Regions from separate parts of the Homo sapiens genome. Here all the other regions are linked to region 1. Evidence: promoter capture Hi-C in 16 types of primary human blood cells and fetal thymus (Javierre and others, 2016). All regions are on one chromosome and are shown on one strand. The core of a region is centred on a gene start or on the middle of the fragment in contact, and the rest is flanking DNA. Distances in the headings are between cores, read along the strand shown. Region 1 holds the start of RAB22A (RAB22A, member RAS oncogene family). Region 2 overlaps STX16 (syntaxin 16). Region 3 overlaps STX16 (syntaxin 16). Region 4 overlaps NPEPL1 (aminopeptidase like 1).

Region 1 (4,875 bases), core at 1,264-3,763:
CATGCCCATCGGCTGAAACATTCAGCTGGGTAAACCTGGATCTATACTGTACCAGGCTCAACAGTGTTAAATAACTACTAATAATGATCACATGAATAACGGTAACAGCAGCCATTATTTACCAACTGTTTATTACATACTAGGCATTGTGCTAAATCCTTTATTCATTTAATCCCTTATAAAAGCCTTTTGAGGTGGGCCACTATAATGCCCATTTTACTGATGAGGTCGCTGAGGCATAGAGTGGTACAGCGACTTGCCTGGGATCACACTGACAGTAAACAGTGATACGGGATTTCACTCTTGGCCATCTGATTCCACAGACACCGGGCTCTTAACTATCAGCTTGCTTTACCCCTTCAAAAGTGTTATGCTACTTTAACAAAACTGCCCCTTGTTGGTTTGTTTTGTTTTGTTTTGTTTTTTTGAGACGGAGTCACTCTGTCGCCCAGGCTGGAGTGCAGTGGCGTTCACTGCAACCTCTGCCTCCCAGGTTCAAGCAATTCTCCTGCCTCAGCCTCCCGGGCAGCTAAGATTAGAGACGCGCGCCACCAAGCCCGGCTAATTTTTGTATTTTTAGTAGAGACAGGGTTTCACCATGTTGGCCAGGCTGGACTCAAGTGATCTGCCCGTCTCTGCCTCCCAAAGTGCGGGGATTACAGGCCTGAGCCACCGCACCCAGCCGAAACTGCGCCTTCTGAGTTAATGTGTGTAAAGAGTTTAAGACTGGGCCGGGCGTGGTGGCTCACGCCAGTAATCCCAACACTTTGGGAGGCCGAGGTGGGCGGATCACGAGGTCAGGAGATCGAGACCATCCTGGCTAACAGAGTGAAACCCCTTCTCTACTAAAAATACAAAAAATTAGCCGGGAGTGGTGGCGGGCGCCTATAGTCCCAGCTACTTGGGAGGCTGAGGCAGGAAAATGGCGTGAACCCAGGAGGTGGAGCTTGCAGTGAGCCGAGATCGTGCCACTGTACTCCAGCCTGGGCTACAGAGCAAGACTACGTCTCAAAAAAAAAAAAAAAAAAAAAAGAGTTTAACGCTGTCTGGTCCATGGTAAGTTTTCAGTAAACACCAACTCTTACTATTAGGAAACCTGAAGATGTGGAATGAAAGATGAGAGGAAGTACTGTATATGACTGGCGTACAGTACGCCCCCAATTAATGTTAGCTATTTGGATGATTTATATAGGGCTTCTTCACCAGCAAGCACTCCGGTGCTCGGTAATTTTCTGTTTACAAGTAGGCTCTCCCCACACCCTGTGAGCTCCCTGCGTGTAGAGCTGTTTTCAACACATCCTTGCAGGTTCGGAGCCCAACACGTGGCCCCCAGAGCAAATAGCTGCTCAGTAAGTTTCTTGACAGGAGAGAAAACGCTTCCTTCCTTCACCAGAAATGCGAACTTGGATTTCTAAGATGACACCTCCCCCAGCTACCAGCCCTTAACATGATTCCAAAAAAGAGGGCAAGAAGGGACAAGGGTCCCACCCAAGAAATGCGGGGGCCAATGGGCTCCATGGGATAAGAGATGGAGCCGGGCTTGTGGCCAGGACACTTGAGAAGTCCGTGCAACTCCGTGACCGGCCACACCGAGAGGGGGACCTCCCAAACCCCCCAGCAGTCCTAAAAAGTCCCTAGGAAAAGGGCAAGGCCCTGAGAGGGAAGTCACCCACCTCCCAGGTGGCGGACCCCCCGCCCGCCCAGGGTCGACTAGGACTTGGGACTACCCCCTCCGCCCATCCCACGGCAGCTGCAGGCGCAGGAAGAAAAGAAGTGACAGGGAGTCCAAAGTTTCCCCAACAACAAAAATCCTTCCCCCGAGGGAAGGGAAGGGCTCCCACCCTCAGCCCGCCCCGCCCAGGGAGGAGGGACCGCCACCAGTGGATCTAGGCAGTTGGGGGTCCCGCTGTTCTGGTCCCGACAAGGAGTGCCTGGCTTGAGGTTCCCCCGCCCCGCGCTTCGTGCACTCTGAATTCTTTGAGAGGGTCCCAGGGAGGGACAGGGGTGCCCCAACTCTTACTTACAGTCGTCTAAGTCATCCTGCAAGTCCACAAAGTACAGGGGGATCTCTGAAAACCAAGAAACACACAAGAAGTTACCAGGGGGCTGCGGCGAGAGGGGACGGGGTCGGGCAGGGGCCCCTCGGCCTCGCGGGGTGGTCACGGGGCGAGAGAGAGAGGGGCACCCCTGGCATCCCCCGAGCCCAGCCCCACTCACCCGCCATCTTGGGATGGGCATGGAGGCGGGACCGGCAGGGGCGGGGCCCTGCAGACAGGGGCGGGGCCCTGCAGACAGGGGCGGGGCCCTGCAGACAGGGGCGGGGCCCTGCAGACAGGGGCGGGGCCCTGCAGACAGGGGCGGGGCCCTGCAGACAGGGGCGGGGCCCTGCAGACAGGGGCGGGGCCCTGCAGACAGGGGCGGGGCCGTCGGCTTCGGGCCCCGCCCCCGATCCGCGCCGGCCGGCCGGCCCCGCCCTCTCAGCGAAGGTGGCTGCCGAGGTGGGCGGGGAGGTCAGGTGACGCGGCCGGCGTCCCAAGATGGCGGCGGCGGCGGCTCCCGGAAGGCCGCGGCGGCGTCCCGGCTGCTAAGGCGGGCCCCACGCGGCTGGCAGCGGACAGGCCGGACCTACGGCCGGAGGACGGGCGGCAGCCGCCTCTGCGCGGACCGGGGCTGGGCCGTGCGGCGGCAGCGGCGCCAGGGGATGCTCTTGCTGGGCCTGGCCTCTCCCTTCTCAACTTAGGGCGGCGGCGGGCCCGCGCCCCTGGCTCCCGGGCCATGGCGCTGAGGGAGCTCAAAGTGTGTCTGCTCGGGGTGAGTGGCGGCGGGTCCGGCCGGGAGGGCCACGGGAGGCTGGGCTGGCGGGGACCCCGGATCCCCCCTGTCCCCTCATCCCTTCCCCCCTCCCACGTCCAAGACGCTGTCTGCCAGCCCCGTGGACCCTCCCTCCAGCTCGGGAGCCGTCCCGCCCACCTCTTGCACTCTCGAAAAGGTCCTGGAGGCCGAAGGGACCCTTCCCCTTCCCCTCCCTGGAGCCCGTGGACTCTTCCCGCCCCACAAAGAGCAAACAGCCCCCCCTTGCCTCTCTATTGCATCTGGGTTAAGAGAGGTTCTTAAATAGTTTTCTCCCAACTTACCAAGGTATTAGTTGGGAGTTGGCCAAGTCTTCCAAAGTAAAACCAATAACAGGTCTTTAGGTTTTACAAGCAGCATTAGCCTACTTTGTCTCTTGGGTGTTTTTGAACTTGTGGGATACCCCTGCCACTTGTCCAAAGAGTTACTTTGCCAAGTAACTCTTCCTGTGGAGAAAAGGGGTGTTCAAATCAGGAAGCCCCAAAGACTAGTTTGAAGCTTCAGCTTCCTGTCTTGTCAGGAAAGACAAGGTGTTGGCCATTTCAAAGCCTTCTTTCTGAAATTGATGCTGTCATTCCAGAGTTTCTGCCTTAAAGATCGGCAGGAACTCCAATAACTAATCTTTATTCCCCCAAATAGGGTGGGGCTAGGATTCATCAGGGATTACTCAGAGGTAACTCAGGAGTTCAAAGTTTACTAACATATGTTAAAAAGCAAGTGGACTTGTTACTTTTTACACGAAGCAGAAACTTTGGGTCTCTCAAAAGGTCCTAATCTGTCTTAACGGCAAAAACCTCTCCCTTTTAGTACAGTTGGAATTTCCTAATTACTCTACTGAATTTTTATGACAACCGCTTTTGTGTTCCTCCGTTTATAAAATTTACACGTCTAGGGTGATTTTTCTAAAATCCTGAACTTATGCCACAAAGTAGTTTTTGGTGTCTGCCAAAAGGTAAACTTTTTCTCAGTCCCTCATCTCGTTCTCTTTCAGGATACAGGTGTAGGTAAATCGAGTATTGTGTGGCGGTTTGTGGAAGACAGTTTTGATCCAAACATCAACCCAACAATAGGGTAAGAGACTTTTATTTGATACACATCTAAAGGTGCATTGAAAATCCTTCCAAATACATAGTGTGTTACAGGTGTAGGCCCTGCGCTTTGTAGTCATTGAATTCTGAGTCGCTGGTTCGCATCATCTCTGGAAGGACTTGAAAGAGTCCAGTGAGGATCTGTGTATTTTAGGAAAATTATCTTCGGACTTGTTGGGGGTGAGAACTTCAAAATGCAAATATGAATTGGAGTTCTACTAATTATTAGAACAGACACAGAAGCTTCGGTCTATAAATATCAACAGCAATTACACCTTGAAATAAGGCAGATGAAAATAGATCCTGGTGCTATTCTTTCAGGCATATCAAGTAAAAGACATTTAAATGGTTTTTGTCCTTCCTGAAAGTAGTAGGTTGAGATCTGAACCCTTACACATTCCTGTACTGGTAGTAATAATAAATTAATAAATTCATATTGAAATGGAAGGTTTTTTCAGTTCTCTGGTTCTATGGATAAGTAAAGTTGATTGTTCATATGTTTTTGACGCTATAAGAAAACTTTTCATTTTGCAATACTAATCCTTTGACTACATAAGAAGTTGTGTTTTATAGGCTTTAATATTATGTTAACCTTATAAAACTAAATAGGTGCTGTGCTCTAGTTTTAATCATCAAACCCTCAAATGGTTTCCAGCATTTAAAGAAAAAATCTATGTTATCCATCATTAGGATAAAATTGGCCTTTGTGCTCCATGCAGATCATTCTTTGACTAATAGAGAAATATTTTACAGCCCAGGAGAGAAACTGCCATAAGATTGTCCCCTGAGAAATTATGAGCTCCTGCTGTCAGAGGTTATTTATGGATTTTTTTGAGACAGAGTTTCGCTCTTTTTGCCCAGGCTGCGGTGCAATGGCGCAATCTTGGCTCACTGCAACCTCTGCCTCCCGGGTTCAAGCGATTCTCCTGCCTCAGCC
Region 2 (5,043 bases), core at 2,532-5,031, 370 kb after region 1:
TACTCGGGAGGTTGAGGCAGGAGGATCGCTTGAACCTGGGAGGTAGAGGTTGCAGTGAGCCGAGATTGCACCATTGCACTCCAGCCTGGGCAACAAGAGTGAAACTCTGTCTCAAAAAATATATATATATATATTGTATAAAATTACTTTCAAGCTATGTATATGAAACATTAATGGTATATGAAACATAAAGGTATAAGAAACATTAATGAATTTTGTGTTTAGACTTGGGTCCCATCCAGAATATCTCATTATGTGTATGCAAATATTCCAAAATCTAAAAAAAAAATCCCAAATCCAAAACACTTCTAGTCTCAAGCTTTTCAGATAAGGGATACTCAGCCTGTATATGTGTGTATTTACAAATTATATACATAGGCTACTGTCATTCCCTATAAGAATATTAATAAATCTTTTTTTGATAAATGAAGTTCTAATATTCTCTTCCCATGCCTCGAGGGTACTCATGTGAGCACCCTACTCTAGAGACCTAGTTGACTCTGACCGAGCTCAGCAATGATTCTGACGCTATAGAAGATTTCCCTTCTAATTTTGGCAGGTTATTGTGTAATGGCAATTGGAACCACTAGCGTTCAAGTAGAATTAAATTGTTGTTCACCGTTAAAATCTGATTAGGGCATTTTATTATCTTGCCAGCAGGGATTTGGGTCCTGATCCCCCTGAAACCAACTGCAGAATGGAGTGTTCAGGCTCTGGAAGATCCAGTTACATTAATTACTCCAGTGGTTCCCAGTGAACTGCTATCTCTTCTAATCCAGCATGTTTCCAATAAAAGCTCTGTTCTTCCTCATAGCCCAGTGTCCCCGTCTTCCAATTTAATTGTTTAAGAGATTAAACAATTAAACATCTTCCCCTTGAGTCCAAATTTTTAATTTTAGGTGGTAGACTGGAGTTTACCATTTCCTGCTCTGACCCATAGAGATGTGGATCCACGTTTATAGACGTGATAGTCAATTTGCAGGTCTACTTATGACAGGGGCGAGCTTACCTGGTGTTCTCTGCTTACTTGAATCCAAGTACGTAGGCAGCAAATGGGCGCAGAGCTTCTGTGCTGCTCAGAGCCTCTGTCCACTGGACCATAGATTTCTTAGGGCCCCAGGAAGTCCGAATATGGCATTTCTATGGCAGCTGAAACCAATAAGGAAACCTCAGTCTGTCAGTACTTCTTTCTCGTGAGCTAGATGTGATGGCACTAACCAGCATTCTGCCATCGAGCTCCTGACACTGCTTGAGGGTGAACTCCAGAGCCCTCCGTGTGTACCTGCAGCACACAGGGAAGGAAAACATCATCTTATGGATGATGATGTCTGTAATTTGCATATCTCATTTTTGACGTTCAGTTTTCCCAGTTGCTATTGTTGATTGTCTGTAACTGTCATTTATTACCTAGGGTACAGTCCTTGACAGAATTGACTATAACGTTGAACAGTCCTGTATCAAAACTGAAGATGGTTTGAAACAGCTTCACAAGGTAATATGTCTTTCAAGACTTGGGAATCTTAGGAACTATTTTCAAATAATCAAGAATTGGTAAGAGGGTTCTTTTCCACCATAACGATCTTCAGCATTCTTGTGTTGTCCACTCTCAATACAGTAGTGTAAAAAGGGATTCATCATTTCATTTAAAGCCAATTGTGGGGGCTGTTGCCGTTTTATTGCAGTTAATGATTCCAGGTGTATCTCACACTTAAATCCAAAATTGCTAAGAACTCCTTTTTGTGACAGTAAATTCTAAAGAGATTGGAGTTCTTTCTTTTAGAAAATATTTCATTCTTTTCTAATGCTTCTTGTTTTAGGAAATCAATTGGGCATTTGCTAAAATATGTGTTGAAAATCTGTCTGCTTGTTGCCGTTGACTTGGGCCTCTCTTGTGATACATTCCTGATGAATTGCTGATGGAGAATCATTCTGCAGAAGATAAAAATCTAATCTTCTCTTTAATTACCACAGCATATCTGTATTACCTTGAGAAAAGAGAAGTTTGTTGAAGTGAGAGTAGTAATTCTTTTATTCTGTGCTAATAAGGTAGCTGTTTCAGGGATGTTTTTATGATATTCTCTTTTAAAAAAATAGATGGAAAGCATCTTAGGAATCTTATCGGTTATAAGAAACATGCATAAACGGCTGAGACTCTCATATATAATTGGTTACGTATTTTCTTTAAAAGGAATATAACAATACTTCACAAATTAAATAATATCCATTTCCTTGTATCTTTGAGACCCAGTGGAGTTTCTAGCCATATAATGAGTGTTTTGCCAATTCACTGTTGGACTACTCTACCATTTTTCTGAAATCAGTCGCTTCCTATACCAGAGATCGCCCCATTTAATAGCAGTATTGGGTTTACAAAAAGTCAGCCCTTGCACTAGTCTAACCAGAAGCCCTGAGCTGTCTTTTCAGGGGGCTTGTTGCCATGTGTAGGTGGATATGAGACTCCAGCCTGTGGTGGGAAGAGAAGTCTGACCTTGTCTATGCAGGGTTTTTTTAAGCATTTAGATTAATTTGGTTGCCAAGCCCTGTCTATTAAAAGTGAAAACTAACTTAAGTTTCTCACTCTGTAATACCCAGGTTTTGATGTGCTGCTGAATTATGCATTGGTTTTGAAGTTTCTTAAATAAAAACTAGTGAAATATGTTTTGTAATATAACACAGATAAAAGGAAAAGCTTTCTCTGCGGGAGTGAGCAAATCTAGTGGGAACTAAAAATTTTGTTTTAGGTTCTACTTTATAAATCATTTTGAGAGGTTTTACAGTATATTATTTAGTATTGGCTTCCCTGGTGTTCTGGGTTACTTATTAGAAAAGTCAGCGTGCTCCATCTTCCCTCCAGCCACAAGGCTGTAGGCAGCACGCGCGTGCTCGGCAGTCGGCTAGTCTAAGGGTGATTGAGCGTCGGGAGCTGCTCCCCATGACCGGACTCTCGGTGCTGTCCCCGTGCCTGATGTTTCCTCCTGGTGGATGAGGGGCTCCTCCAGGTGGGCGGGCAGGCTCACTTAGGAAACAAGCCCACCGCGGGGGATGGAGCAGGAGAGATTGCCATTCTCGCCAGGGCTGCCTTCCCGCTGTCTCCTCCTCCCTCCTGTGCCATAGCAAGGTCTGGAAGAGGCAGCGCATGCTCTCCCTGGACGTGCCTCCCGGCGCCCTCTGAACTCTGCTGTCCTCTGGCTCTCCTTTCTCAGTGCTCTGCGTCTTTCGCCAGCCAGGTGGGGCCCTTTGGCATTTCTCTAGCAGGCATGATGGAGTTCCCGCTCCTGCCGAGCTTCCAGGATGCGGTGTTAAGGTGAAGAGATGTGCAGGGTGCAGCCTCGTCCCCAGATTGAGCTTGGAGGGCTCCTTTGCTGTATCGTTAGCGGCACTGGGAGGACGCGCCTCAGAGGGATCTTTCTGCATATGACATCCATGGGGCACACGTGTCTGTTTTTATTTCAAAGGATGAGTTTTTGTTTCCAAATTTAGGGGAGGTCGAAATGGGGCCTCTTCCGGGTGTCTGTTGCCTACCTGCCAGGTACGGTCCTCCAGCCCGTTGTTTCCTTCCGCGGTGAAGGAACTGTGCATTCGCTCCAGGAACACGGACCGGGAACAGGCGACCCGTGCTGCAGGGGCACTTGCCACGGCCTGCAGGAGGAAAAGCCGGGAGAAGCAGGCCCAGCTGCACCCGGAAGCATGAGCTTTCACTTCCCTGTCAGGCTTTGTCTTAGTAGTAGGTTTCCAACAAATCCATTTCCACGTCCAGGGTAAATAAGCAGCACCAGGATCATGGGGCTCTTCCACTCCTGGTGATTGAATTCCGTGGGATTGATTGGAGGGATTACAATCATGTAGCCTGTAGCAGAGACCTCAGTCACTGTGCAGAGAGATCTGGAAGCCTCATTCTGGAAACGAGTGGGACTTGATTTGGGATTTTGGGGAAAATGACGGCCTTTTTTCCCTCCTCTTTTTGTAGGCAGAACAGTATCAAAAGAAGAATCGGAAGATGCTTGTGATTTTAATATTATTTGTCATCATCATTGTGCTCATTGTTGTCCTCGTTGGCGTGAAGTCTCGATAAGTGGCATTGGGTTTTCGTGTGTGCCGCGCGTGTGGATCTCCCGGGTGTGAGGGGCTTGGCCTGCGCCCCGCCAGCTGCCCGCAGAGGTGCAGCCTCGAGGAATCTGAGGGCGTCGGGGCAGCGAACCTTTGCATCCACGGACTCCTCCTTCCCTAGTCCTGCTCAAGCGGTCCGGGGAATGGGTTTTTGTTTTTCCTTCATTGTTGAGAATTTAAGGACCTTTGATACTGCTGCACAATAGAGATTGAGTTCTGGGATCAGTTATAATATATATTTTTTTTAGAAAGAGAAAATGAGCTGAGAGTTTACAGGCACTGCAGAAGCTGTTCAGTATTATATGTGTATATGCTATTTTTTTAGCAGCCATGTCTGAGCAGAATGTTAACATAATTTTTGGAAAAATTTTCTTTAAACCATCTGGTTTTTAAGAAATTTGGTACCAAAAATTGATGAGTAGAGGCAAAAATGCCCCTTCATCTTTCTCTATATATTTTCCAGTTGAAAACAAACTAAGAAGTCCTTTAAGAATTTATAATCCGTTCCCCATTAACTTAATTTAGCTTTTCCATCACTGTTAATGATCAGAGTAACAAAGTGTGAAAAATAAGAAACCATCATTGATGTTAATTAACACATTTAGATGGGCCAGTTAAAACAGCTTCATAAGTTTTAAATTAATTGTAAATGGAATATTCCTCATTTAAAATTTTTGCACTGCATTTTCTACTGTAAACCAAAAGAGGTTACTAAGCAAAACCACCTAAATTTAAGTTGGTGATTTAAATGAATCTCACATTAAAAGAAAGCTTGACAGTGTTATGAAAGCCACCAGACTCAGCCAGTGTGTCCCCATGGGTATCCCCAGCCATCCTTGCTCAATCCATTACTTATATACTAACTACATAATGACCTGTTCAAACCAGACTCTATTTAATGAACTGTGAATTTACACAGAGGCCATTTTAAATGGG
Region 3 (5,503 bases), core at 2,502-5,001, 350 kb after region 1:
GTTGAAGTGTTACATCTTCACTTTGCTTACAGGTGATTCGTAACAAAATCTATTCTGCACACAGTACGGCGAAATGCTAACAAGACTAAATAGAGGTTATGATTTTTTCAACTTTTCTGGAAGTTGGAAAAGCTTTATAAACATTTTGAAGCAAAAGCCATGTTTAACACAATTTGTAAAATCTATTGAGTAACTCTTAGCAATGCTTTTCACTGCATATCTAGCTCACAAAAAATTTAAAGCCTTGTTTCTGACTTGTAAATTTCAAAGCCATGTAGCAAACCAAACAAAATCGTATCTGTCAAATTTTGAATATGGACTAGGTATTAGGTGACATTAAGGAATTAATTATAATACATTACATTTGCTAATTTTATTAGAGATGCCTACTGAAATGTTTAGTGGTGAAATGTCAAGGCATCTTACCTAAGTCCTTAAACCCCTCCAAAAATAGAGGAAGCAAATAAGGCAAATTGTTACTCATTGTTAAGTCTAGTGATGAGTATGTGTGCGACATTTTACCATTTTGTAGGCTTTTCTGCATGTTTGAAAATTTTTAAATAGAAACTTAAAGTAAGTATATTTGTTATAGTAAAGTAAAACAGTTAAAAAGAGGCAATTTGTAAATACATGTCTAACACTCAGGCAATTTGAAAGGAAGAAATTAAACCTAAGTTTAACTTAATTTAAAAAATAATAACCTGGAATTTTAAGTTTCCAATTAGAAGAAAAAGCTGTAGACTTTGATCTTGATGCATTTGATACCAACTAAAAATACACCTAAAATAACAGACTTTTTAAAAAAAAAATTGTAATCCTGAATTTTGACATCTTATTTCAGGAAAAAGCTGCAGAAATTAATTGCAGAGTAGTGTGTATCATACACCTCAAAGCAAAGCACACCTAAAGCCATGCCATTCAAAAAATTTAAACATGCATTTTTTGCATCCTAGTTTGAGGGAAAAAACTAGAATTTGGTTGTTGTAGTGGGGTTATTGTGTGTCCCTGTGCGTGCATACAGGGTTTTGCAGCATTCAGGCAAATATGTCAAATAAACAGGAATTTAAGGAGGATACGCAGTGACCAGATAAACACAAAGCCTCAAGGGCCAGAAGGAACCTAAAGGTCATTTGGCCTAATGTCCCCATTTGTGATAACCCCTCATGCCTATCTTATTTGGCCATGGTGTATGACAATGATGGAAAATGCCAGCAGCTCCATGATTTTTACCACTAAAAAGTCTTTGCCTGTTAATCCCAACTATTTGTGTCCTGGGGTCCTGCTTTTAGTTCTGTTCCTTCGGGTCTTCCTTCTGTCTGGTAACCCTGCAGCCTTGTTACCCAGAATTCTTTCCAGGCCTAGCATTCCCGGCTCAGAGTGGTTATGCTTTTTTCCTATAAATGATGTTTAGTTTTTCTGTATCCTTTTTAGATTTCAGCATCCAGAACTGAGCAAAATTCTACTTTTTTGTGTTCTTAGTTGTATTAAAGTTAGTAAAACTAATTGTAAAAAAACAGACAGGTTTGACTTTATGCACTCCTAACAAAATACAGTCGTATTTCCCATGCATTTTACTTTGGCCTCAGTTTTGAGTGCCCCATCACGTTCATGCCTCAGGGCAGCATGAAATAAAGGAAAGAGCACTGAGAATTGAATCTGAGAATTGAGGCCTAAGTCCTGTTCTGCTGCAGGCTCAGAGTGTGTCCTTAGGCAAGCCTTTAATCTTTTCGGACATTTTTTGCCTCATTTGTAAACTGAGGGGTTTGGGTTAGGTGATTTCCAGCAGCCCTATCGATTCAACAGTATTTTCTCAAGTTCTGTTTTAATACATTGTTTCTCCTGACTTTAGCTTTAATTTGAAAAGGAGAAATTCATAGTCAACAGTGTTGTAGCTGTCAGTCCAAGGTTACTGACAGAAATCCTTAGAAGTAGCCCCAGTACTGTGCAAAAGTAACTTTCACATTATTATGCCAGCCAAGTGCAGGTTTTAAGGTAGCAACTCATTCAAGCAGCTTGGCTTTAGGAAACTGAAATGGATTTATGAAGCTAAACAATTATTCAAAACAAATTGTAAAGTCATAAAGAAATGAATGAAAGGTAGATATTGAGATGCTCTTCTGATCTGATGAAATTCTGTATGGATTTGTGTGGTTTCCTTCGATCTCCGGGAATGGATCTAATATAGGGGTTGGAGCTACTTTGTTAGTGTTTACTGCCTAATCTATACTCTGCTTTAAAATAATGCATAATCTATAATTGGAAGCTAGCGTTAATTGGTCTTAGATTAGTTTGAAACATAAGCACATTATTTTTAATAAAATGTGTGCTTTAGGAAAAAGGAAATTAAGGATTAACTATGGTTATAAGAAACCTGAGGTCCTTATTCAGGCTTGACTACAATATTAGCTAAGATTTATGGAGAGTTTACTTTGTGCCTGGCTCTGGGCTAAGCCCTTTCCGTGTGTAAGCTCAGCTCATCTTCACAGTGCTCTATCAAATAAGTACTATTGTTTTTCTCAGATACAGATAAGGAAACAGATTTTAGAGGAGGTAGGAAACTGGCCCAGTGTCACCCACCTGATGGCTGGGGGCTGTGATTGGAACTCTGGCAAATCTGGCTTCAGAGCCCCGTGCTCACCTCCTGGGCCACTCTGGTGTTGGCTGCATTTTCAGAACTTGTGCTGCAGATCCTGGAAAATGGAAGGACCTATTGTTTTAAAACAATTTTTTTTCTTGCAATAGGCTAGCATCTTTCTTTATCTCACTTTATGAACCTTACATAGTCAATTTTAACTTGCAGATTGAAGATTCTAAGTTTTAGTACAAGCTGAGTCTGTTGGAAAATTAGTTCTCTGTCTTTAGAATCCAAGTATGAAATCATTATATATTTCTCTTTAGATCTACTTGCTTTTCTGCTTTTAAAGATTCCATGGGAGCAGTGAGGCTTACTTTGAGAATAAGGGTACTTTGTTGGATAAAAGTGAAGCAAACTTTTATTTTGGCAGTAACGGAAATAAAGTAAATATCACTATAGCATAGACCTGTGTTTCCAACTCATTTTGCTCAACTTTTCCAGACTTCCTGAGTAAACACAGATGGGTTTCCACTTATTTTTCAGTTTTATGTAGAAAGTTCTTTAGACTATAAATTCCACATGCTACTTGGAGTTTTCAGTGTTTGCTTGATTGCATGCCATTGGAAGGTCAAAAACCTAGATTTAGACATTATAAAGATTTAGAAGGTGATGATGTGTAGTAACGTGTTTTCATTTGGCTTTATTTTGGTCTTTCTTGATGGTAATTCTAAATGTTTTAATTCAGGTCTTGACTAAATTTCCTGGTAATTTGGTGGCAGACAGAATTTTGAAAGCCTTCTATTTTTAAATAGCAGAATGGTGGGGAGGGTCTTTGAAAAGGTGACCTTAATTTAATATTCCTGATGTGGTGGTAGCTGCCTATCACAAGTAATTCCCTGAATTGTTAATAAAATTAGAGAGGCTGGAGGGTGGGGTGGAAAGAGACCTGAACACCTGGGTCTGTCCCCAGTCTGACCATTAACAAGCTCTGTGGCTTCAAGCAATGCATTTATACATTTTGAAGCTTAGTTTTCTTATTTGTAAGAAAAGACTTATTTCTAGCCCTAGAATCCCATGATTCTGATTTCACCTCTTATCAACTAATAATTGTAGAAATCAGAAGATCAGGGTGTGTGTGCTCGGTTAATAATCCAAGAGCATAGGCACATGTGCAGCAGAGATTTTAACCGAGGTTTGCAATAGTACATCGTTCAAAGATTAAATGCCAGGGAGCCGCTGCAGAATAGGAAGAAGACTGAGATACTCAAGTTAGGGATTTTGTCTTGCATCATGTTTTATTAATAAAAGATTTTAATGTTCTCTTAATGTTAAGCTTTTAAAAAATAAAAACATTTTTTCTTTGTAAAGTAAAAGGTAATTAAATCAGCTTTCCATTTGATTTATTAATATCGTCTAGTACTACTATTATGGCAGGGTGTGTATAGAGTTCTTTTTTGCTCTCATAGAAAATTGTGGAAGGAATGAAGAGGATTTGCAGCTTTTCATAATGTCATCTAATTGAATTTTTACGTGGAGTAAAGTTTGATTACATTTTTATTGCTATCATTGTTTAATAATATTTTGACCCTGATAGAGCAGCTTCATTTGCACTATTTTTAAATAAGAAAGTTATGTTTTATTTTCTAAATTTACTGCTAAACATAAAAAAACACAATTGATTATTGAATTTCACCACTAATTATTTCAGTGATCAATACTGTACAAAAAAAAGACCTAGTTGTTTAGATTATCTGTCATTAGTAAATGTCTGTCCAGAAGATAGAGTTCCATGTTGATCTAAAAAAGAACCTTTACTTTTCAATTGAAACTTAACCCTCTGGTGTCATGCTTCTCCCTTCCCCCTCCCCTTAAAAGAAAAAAATTATTCTTACCTTTTGTTTTGTCTCGTTTGCTTGCTTTTATAAGAGCCTTATGAATAACTGTATGCTTTCTAGCTAATAATAATACATACCAAGAGATGGTAAGAGTTTTTCTTTTATTTTGCCACCTGTGTCTCTCTCCGGGAAAGAGTGGTTTCTCAGCTCTCTTACTACCAGGGATGAAGCCGTGTCTGCGGGATGTAATTTGCAGAGACCTTACATATGTGGTCACTCACATGTTATCTGAATACAGCTACAGACAATTTTTGTGGGTCATTTATTTTTTAATTTTGTTGCATTTGCAGGTCTGATTTACATGTTAAAATATACATTTATTTAACATGATAAAATTACATTTTAGCTCTGCTCTCTTATTTTATTTTCCTGAGGGAAAATAGAATGTGGTATTGTATGTGATATTTGGTGTTTATGAAACAGATTAACAGCATATTTTAGTGAAACCAAAGCAAGTGTGTTTTATCTGTTTCCAGTGTATTTTAATATTTACAGTCATTTTTTGCTTGTTTCCTAGCTCATTTTCAAAACAACCACAGTAAATAAAAATTAAAGCATATATTGATGTAGCTTAATTTAAAAAAAAAAAAGGAGATTTTAAAATGCCTTGCTTAGTGGATCTTTATATTTAGTCAGCTTAAAATCTCAGTGTTTTCTCAACTGACCATGCCTTGTCTGTCTGTCTGTCCCATGCTGCTTTCTTTGTGCTTTCCCCAACTGGATGGGACTGATGGGGACAACATGTCTCTTCAGGAGCTGGACGAGGTATTGTGTTTTGAATATTTTTATATGTTGGGTAATTTGAGTTTATAAAATACCTACTTTTCCTGAAGTCTTTGCTCATATATAAAATGCTAACAGCTTATACATATTTAGCATTTGTTTTGATTACTTTATAATTTTTTTAACAGTTTAATATGTAGAATTTAATCTATTTTCACACCATGTGAACTGATGATTTAAAAAAGGCTTTGGGAAGATCGTTTACTAGTCTTGGGAAAGTGTCTTAACTTTGGAAGCAGTAAAGGTTGAA
Region 4 (5,335 bases), core at 1,982-4,481, 390 kb after region 1:
TGTTTGCCTCTGCTGCCTTTTGTTCCTGGGGGATGGACAAGGGGAGAACATCTGCCTCCCACCTGGTCCCCAGTGATGGCCTTTTTCTCCCTAGTGCTTAGCGAATGCCACAGACGGCGTGCGGCTAGCAGCCCGCATCGTGGACACACCCTGCAATGAGATGAACACCGACACCTTCCTCGAGGTTTGTGGCGTCATCAGGCCGGGGGTGGGACCAGGCTGGGGTGGGTGTCATAGACTCCCAGGAGAGCCAGAGGAAACCTGGGGCTGTCCACACCCTGACGTGGCCAGGGAACCTCAGGGCTGCCCTCGGCGGAGCGCTGCTGTCTGCCGGGCTCCAGGAAGCCTCAGGAAAGGGTGTGTGGGGAGGACAGAGCCTCCTCTTCAAGGCCCCTTGGCAGGACCACAGCCAGAGCTACAGGAAATGAGAGTGTGTGGAGGGTGAGCCCCCTCTTCTGGGTTTCATCACACGCGAAGCTGGCTCCCAAGCCCGGCTCCCCGACGCGGCACAGGCAGCGGTTCATCCCTGGCCCCAGCCTCGGCCTCTCCTGTTTCCAGCCATCTTCATGTGTTGTTGTGCTGTTGTTTTTTCCATGAACATGTCCAGGAGATTAACAAAGTTGGAAAGGAGCTGGGGATCATCCCAACCATCATCCGGGATGAGGAACTGAAGACGAGAGGATTTGGAGGTGGGTGGGGGCTGCATCCCTGCAGCTCTTGGCCTCGGGCAGTGGCCAGGGGCACTTGGGTGGCAGGGGGTCGGCGGGCCACATGGCACATTGTCCCAAACTTCATCCTGCTTGTGACCTGAAAGGAATCAGCCTGTGTCCAAGCCCAGTGCCGGACCCTGGGAAGCAGCCGTCCCTGGGGGAGAAGGGGAGGCAATCCAGATTCTGATTTGGATTCTGGAAGCTGCTAGATCCAAGTCCTTCCCTGCCTGCAGCCTCTCCAGCGTCCTCGCGTGCTGCACACCCTTACTCCTGGGACTGGCTCAGCAGGGCCTTTCTGTTCCTTGAATACACAAGTTCCCATCACGGCAGGCAGGGCCTGTGTGCGGATGGCTCTCCCTATCTGGAATACTTTCCCCCAAGATATATTTTTGGTGGAGGCCATCTCAACCAATGCCCCCTCCTCAGAGAGGCCTTCCCCAAGTCCCCAGACCCACCTTTCCCCACTGCCCAGGAACCAGAGGGGCAGATAAGTATGACTCAGCTGCCCCGTGGTGCTTGTAGACTGGCAAGAGGAAGGCGGCTGTCTGTGTTATGTGTGGCTACAAAACAAATCACTCGGAAGATAGCAGCTGAATGCAGCAACACTTATCCCCTCCCCGTGCTGTGGGTTGGGGATCTTCCCCTGGTGCAGCGTCTCTGCCTGCTGTTGTCAGGTTGTTGGCTGGGGCTGCAGTCATCTGAGGGCTTGCCTGGGGCTGGCGATGTGCTTCCGGGCAGGCTCACAACAGGCTGCTGGCAGGTCTCAGGGCCTCACAGGCCATTAGCTGGAGGCAGCAGGTCCTTGCTGTTTGAGCCACCCTCCGAGCAAGGTCTCTGAGCGAGAGATAGGGATAAAGAGCGAGCAAACAAGATGGAAACTCCCATCTTTTTCTGTGACCTAATCCCAGGAGTGATATCTCATCACTTCTACCTTTTTCTTTTGGTTAGAGGTGAGACATCAGGACCTGCTCACATGAGGGGGAGGGACTGCACAAGGACATGAATACCCAGACGTGGGGGCCACAGGGGCCATCCTGGTGGTGTCTACCTAGACAGGAGCCATTTACAAGTGGAGGGAGAGGCCGCTTGTGTCAGGAAAAGCTTCACAGAGGAGGTGGCATTTGCTGTGGATCTTACAGGATGAGTTGGAGTTTGTCAGGCAGCCATGATTAGCTCTCGTCATTGTTGCTATGATTGTTTGACTCAATTATTGCAGGACTTTGAGCCATAGACTCTGCACACGCACAGGCCACAGCTTTCTTGAGAAGATGTGTCATGTAAACCAAAGAGGCAGTGGTGCAGGGACTGTGGGAGCGAGTGTGAAAGGGCGGTGCAGTCCCTGAGTGCTCAAAGGATTCAGGAAGTGGGGACGAGCATGGGCTGGGGCAGCCTTGAGGTGTTATCCAAACATCGTTTCATTCTGCAATCCTGTTCTTTTCTTTCTGGAAAGGATACAATATTTTTTTCCCTTAGTGGGTTTTCTTGCTTAACAAACAACACTTTGCATAGAATTTGTTTGCAATCTCAGACATTGGAGCTAATTTGCATTCCCCAATCCCACACTGGCCAGGGGCAGGAGAAGGGGCAGGGAGCACCAGGCTCAGGCAGGCGGCTCTCCAGGAGAAACACCAGCCGGCCAGAGTTTCCAGGGGCCTCTGGGAGTTCCCCGCTCAGCTCAGCCCGAGCCTAACCCAGTTCTCCCCACGCTTTCCATAGGAATCTATGGGGTTGGCAAAGCCGCCCTGCATCCCCCAGCCCTGGCCGTCCTCAGCCACACCCCAGATGGAGCCACGCAGACCATCGCCTGGGTGGGCAAAGGCATCGTCTATGACACTGGAGGCCTCAGCATCAAAGGGAAGGTGAGGTGCGGGCTGGCTCTCAGGGTGCCCTGGGGGAGGGGAGGGGAAGGTGAGGTGCAGGGCCCGGCTCTCCCGGGTGCCCTGGGGGTGGGGTGGGGTGGGGTGGGGAGGGGAAGGTGAGGTGTGGGCCCGGCTCTCCAGGGTGCCCTGGGGTTGGGGTGGGGTGGGGTGGGGAGGGGAAGGTGAGGTGCCGGCAGGCTCTCCAGGGTGCCCTGGGGGGGGGGGAGGGGCCCAGTTTGGGTCCAGCCAGCCCTCTGAGAGGTGTCATGGGGTGGGGGGCGGCGAGGTTTCTGGGGGTTCTGGGTTGGGGTGGGTTCGGGGAGAGTGCGCAGGGCGGGTTCCCATGTGCTGAGGCGACAGCTTCACGTGGCTCCCTGGGTTTCATGCCCACCCTTCAGAAGGGTCTGGAAACAAAAGCCTGGCCAGGGCCCAAGAGCAGCCCCGGAAATGACGGAAGAAATGGCAAGCAGGGCCAGGGAGGCAGGGCTTGCTGCTTGGGGGCTTTGTCCCGAGAAGAGAAGGGCAAGGGGACGCCTGTGTCTCTGAGTCTGCCCATGGTCCCCACTGAGAAAACGCTCAGAGTGGCCACACAAGACCCTCCAAAGGCACGTGACCCCCAAGAGCGAGGGGAATCTGGGCACGGCACAGAAGCGAGTCACCCGGGAACATCCCGGTGCGGTGGCCCTAGAAGCCTGTCCCGTGGTACGGCTTTCTGTCCTGCCATCCCAGGAGGACAGGTGCTTGTGGAGCCCCCGTCGTGGCCGAGTCTGCCCGCCCCAGCAAGCCCTGCCCTCCTCCGCACCATCTCCATCCATTCATCCTACACACCGTGTGAGCAGCCTCTGTGCTCAGGCCTGGGCTGGGAAGGACAGGGAGGGAGCAGACTGGGAAGTACATACCTCAGGAGGTCTGGAAGGAGCAGGGAGTGCATCCGCAGCAGACACTGCAAACTAGCAGCCTGCAAGGCTCACGGAGGCCTGGCATTTTTAAAATTTGAATTAGCTACCAATATTTGAAACCAGGAAGGATTCTCATCAAAGCCTGGATTTCCGGCCTTTTGTGCACTCAGAAGGTCTGCCAGTGCTGGCGTTCTGTTCCCGCCTGGCAGCATTCCCCTGCAGCCAGTGGGCCTGCCCCTGGTGTCACCCATTCTCCAGTTTGGTTTGCGGTAGGCCCCACCACTTGCTGCTGCCTTCCTGACACTGAGCCCTAGTGTCAGCTGCTGTTCAGGGTGGCGCTGGTGCAGCTCGCCGCGCTCTCTAGCACGCCTAGTTTATTTCATACCTGGAGAGGATGAGCAGTTCCCATCCCTCCTCTAAACCACAAAACTGTTTAGAACTAAGCAGAAAATGACACTAATCATAAAAAGGGTTTTTTGTTTTTTTTTAATAGAAAAAACATGCCTCCCTATGGGTCTCTTGGGGTAATAGATGGTGGAATGAATGTTTGTTTCTGGCTTTGGGTCTTAGCATCTACACGTTTGACAATGGTTTCATTTAAATTGATCTTCTTTACTAATGTATGTTCAGTAGGCAGAGTTGCCAGCTGTCTTCACTCATAGTTGGTCCAAGAATACTATCTGTTAACTTTGATTTTGAAGAGCTCCAATCTCGTGAGGCAACAGATACACAGATACTTAGGAAAAGTCTTTAATACGGTATCATTTGGCAGAGATTCTTAAAAATCCCATTTCACAGTAAATTCCAGCAATCACAACACCCACTGTGTGTTCAGTTCTTCAGGGTGGATTCTTGTGGCTTTCAGATGTCTGCAGAACAAAAGCATTTTGGACACAGTAACTCCAAGTGTTCACATGGAATGAGGGAAGTGAAGGAACGCAGGTTCCGCGTCTTCGTTTTGACCATCCCGCACTCTCGTGTTTTATTTTGGGTCCTCTGTTTCGACACCGGGAGGTAGGAAATCATGGGCCCTGGAGGCCCCGACTGTGCCCAGAGCCAGCCCACAGGATCTGACTGTCAGAGCGATTCTCAGAAGGAATGTGGGTAGTAGATTTTGTGTCGGGTCATTGCTAACGTCCATGTAATGTTACTTTCAGGATAAGTAACAACGATATGCGAATTTGAAGCTTTTGTTTGTGTGATTAAAACGCAACCGTAGCCACAGCAATTTTTTAAACTTCAATCAACAACAGATTTTCGGAGGAGGAATATGTTATTGCTGACTTTGTTCAGAGATACCGGCACACGGTGGTAATAAGCAAACTGACTTCTAGTCGGTTATGATTCCTAAATTCGCCACAGATAGTGCACCCCCTACTGCCTGCACCTGGTACTGGCTGCTCCCACCCTCGCACGCACCCTCAATACCCACGGTCACCCTGGAAGCCGCTACATTCTGGCTGGTAGAGTCGTGGACCCTCTTCTCCTTGGATCAGATGCTTGTTTTTGATGTCGGCTTGTTGTGGACCAATGTGAGAAGATGAGCTTCCTGGGAATTCATTCGTTTGCTTGTGGCACTAACTCTAGTCACTTAGGGAAAATATCGTTGCACCTGACTTCATCTCATGTGGCTGTGGGTAGACCTGTGCAGTTAGTCAGCTCCCGGCCTGGAAATTAACACAAAGGAAAAACCTGACCACACAGGCCTTCCCTAGAGGCCACAGCTGCACAGCCTTCAGGGAAGCTGTGGTCTGAGGGTGGCTGGTAGAACTGCCAGAGAGTAGGGCATTTTCCATGGCTCCAGATCACCTTCTGAAAATGCGACTATAGCCCCTGCCTATTCCCGGGGTCCACCTGGTCTGCAGAC

Evidence for each region. Contacts are between HindIII fragments. The CHiCAGO score rates a contact against its expected background, and 5 or more counts as called.
Region 2: a fragment that was not itself captured here is called in contact with the fragment with the promoter of RAB22A in region 1 in 1 of 17 cell types (neutrophils); the score reaches 6.7 in neutrophils.
Region 3: a fragment that was not itself captured here is called in contact with the fragment with the promoter of RAB22A in region 1 in 8 of 17 cell types (naive B cells, total CD8 T cells, neutrophils and 5 more); the score reaches 9.2 in naive B cells.
Region 4: a fragment that was not itself captured here is called in contact with the fragment with the promoter of RAB22A in region 1 in 1 of 17 cell types (neutrophils); the score reaches 6.0 in neutrophils.

What each region holds. Positions count from the first base shown.
Region 1 is chr20:58,307,202-58,312,076 of GRCh38, forward strand. It overlaps RAB22A (RAB22A, member RAS oncogene family), which reads left to right and starts at 2,514. Exons shown (of 7, transcript NM_020673.3): 1 at 2,514-2,811; 2 at 3,842-3,921. The coding sequence starts at 2,776. It also overlaps the pseudogene PPP4R1L. RefSeq lists silencers at 1,983-2,542, 2,583-2,912. The HindIII fragment of the contact is 7,008 bases long and covers 1-3,346 here.
Region 2 is chr20:58,672,220-58,677,262 of GRCh38, forward strand. It overlaps STX16 (syntaxin 16), which reads left to right. Exons shown (of 9, transcript NM_001001433.3): 8 at 1,412-1,492; 9 at 3,968-5,043. The coding sequence ends at 4,072. STX16-NPEPL1 (STX16-NPEPL1 readthrough (NMD candidate)) reads left to right here. Exons shown (of 23, transcript NR_037945.1): 8 at 1,412-1,492. Among named protein-coding and RNA genes, the nearest start is that of NPEPL1, 18 kb to the right of the region's middle. RefSeq lists enhancers at 3,608-4,133, 4,134-4,658. The HindIII fragment of the contact is 2,189 bases long and covers 2,688-4,876 here.
Region 3 is chr20:58,654,400-58,659,902 of GRCh38, forward strand. STX16 (syntaxin 16) reads left to right here. Exons shown (of 9, transcript NM_001001433.3): 2 at 5,224-5,235. STX16-NPEPL1 (STX16-NPEPL1 readthrough (NMD candidate)) reads left to right here. Exons shown (of 23, transcript NR_037945.1): 2 at 5,224-5,235. Among named protein-coding and RNA genes, the nearest start is that of STX16, 5.9 kb to the left of the region's middle. The HindIII fragment of the contact is 309 bases long and covers 3,598-3,906 here.
Region 4 is chr20:58,698,590-58,703,924 of GRCh38, forward strand. It overlaps NPEPL1 (aminopeptidase like 1), which reads left to right. Exons shown (of 12, transcript NM_024663.4): 4 at 95-184; 5 at 608-689; 6 at 2,427-2,569. It overlaps STX16-NPEPL1 (STX16-NPEPL1 readthrough (NMD candidate)), which reads left to right. Exons shown (of 23, transcript NR_037945.1): 14 at 95-184; 15 at 608-689; 16 at 2,427-2,569. Among named protein-coding and RNA genes, the nearest start is that of NPEPL1, 8.5 kb to the left of the region's middle. RefSeq lists enhancers at 2,912-3,444, 3,445-3,976. The HindIII fragment of the contact is 2,844 bases long and covers 1,810-4,653 here.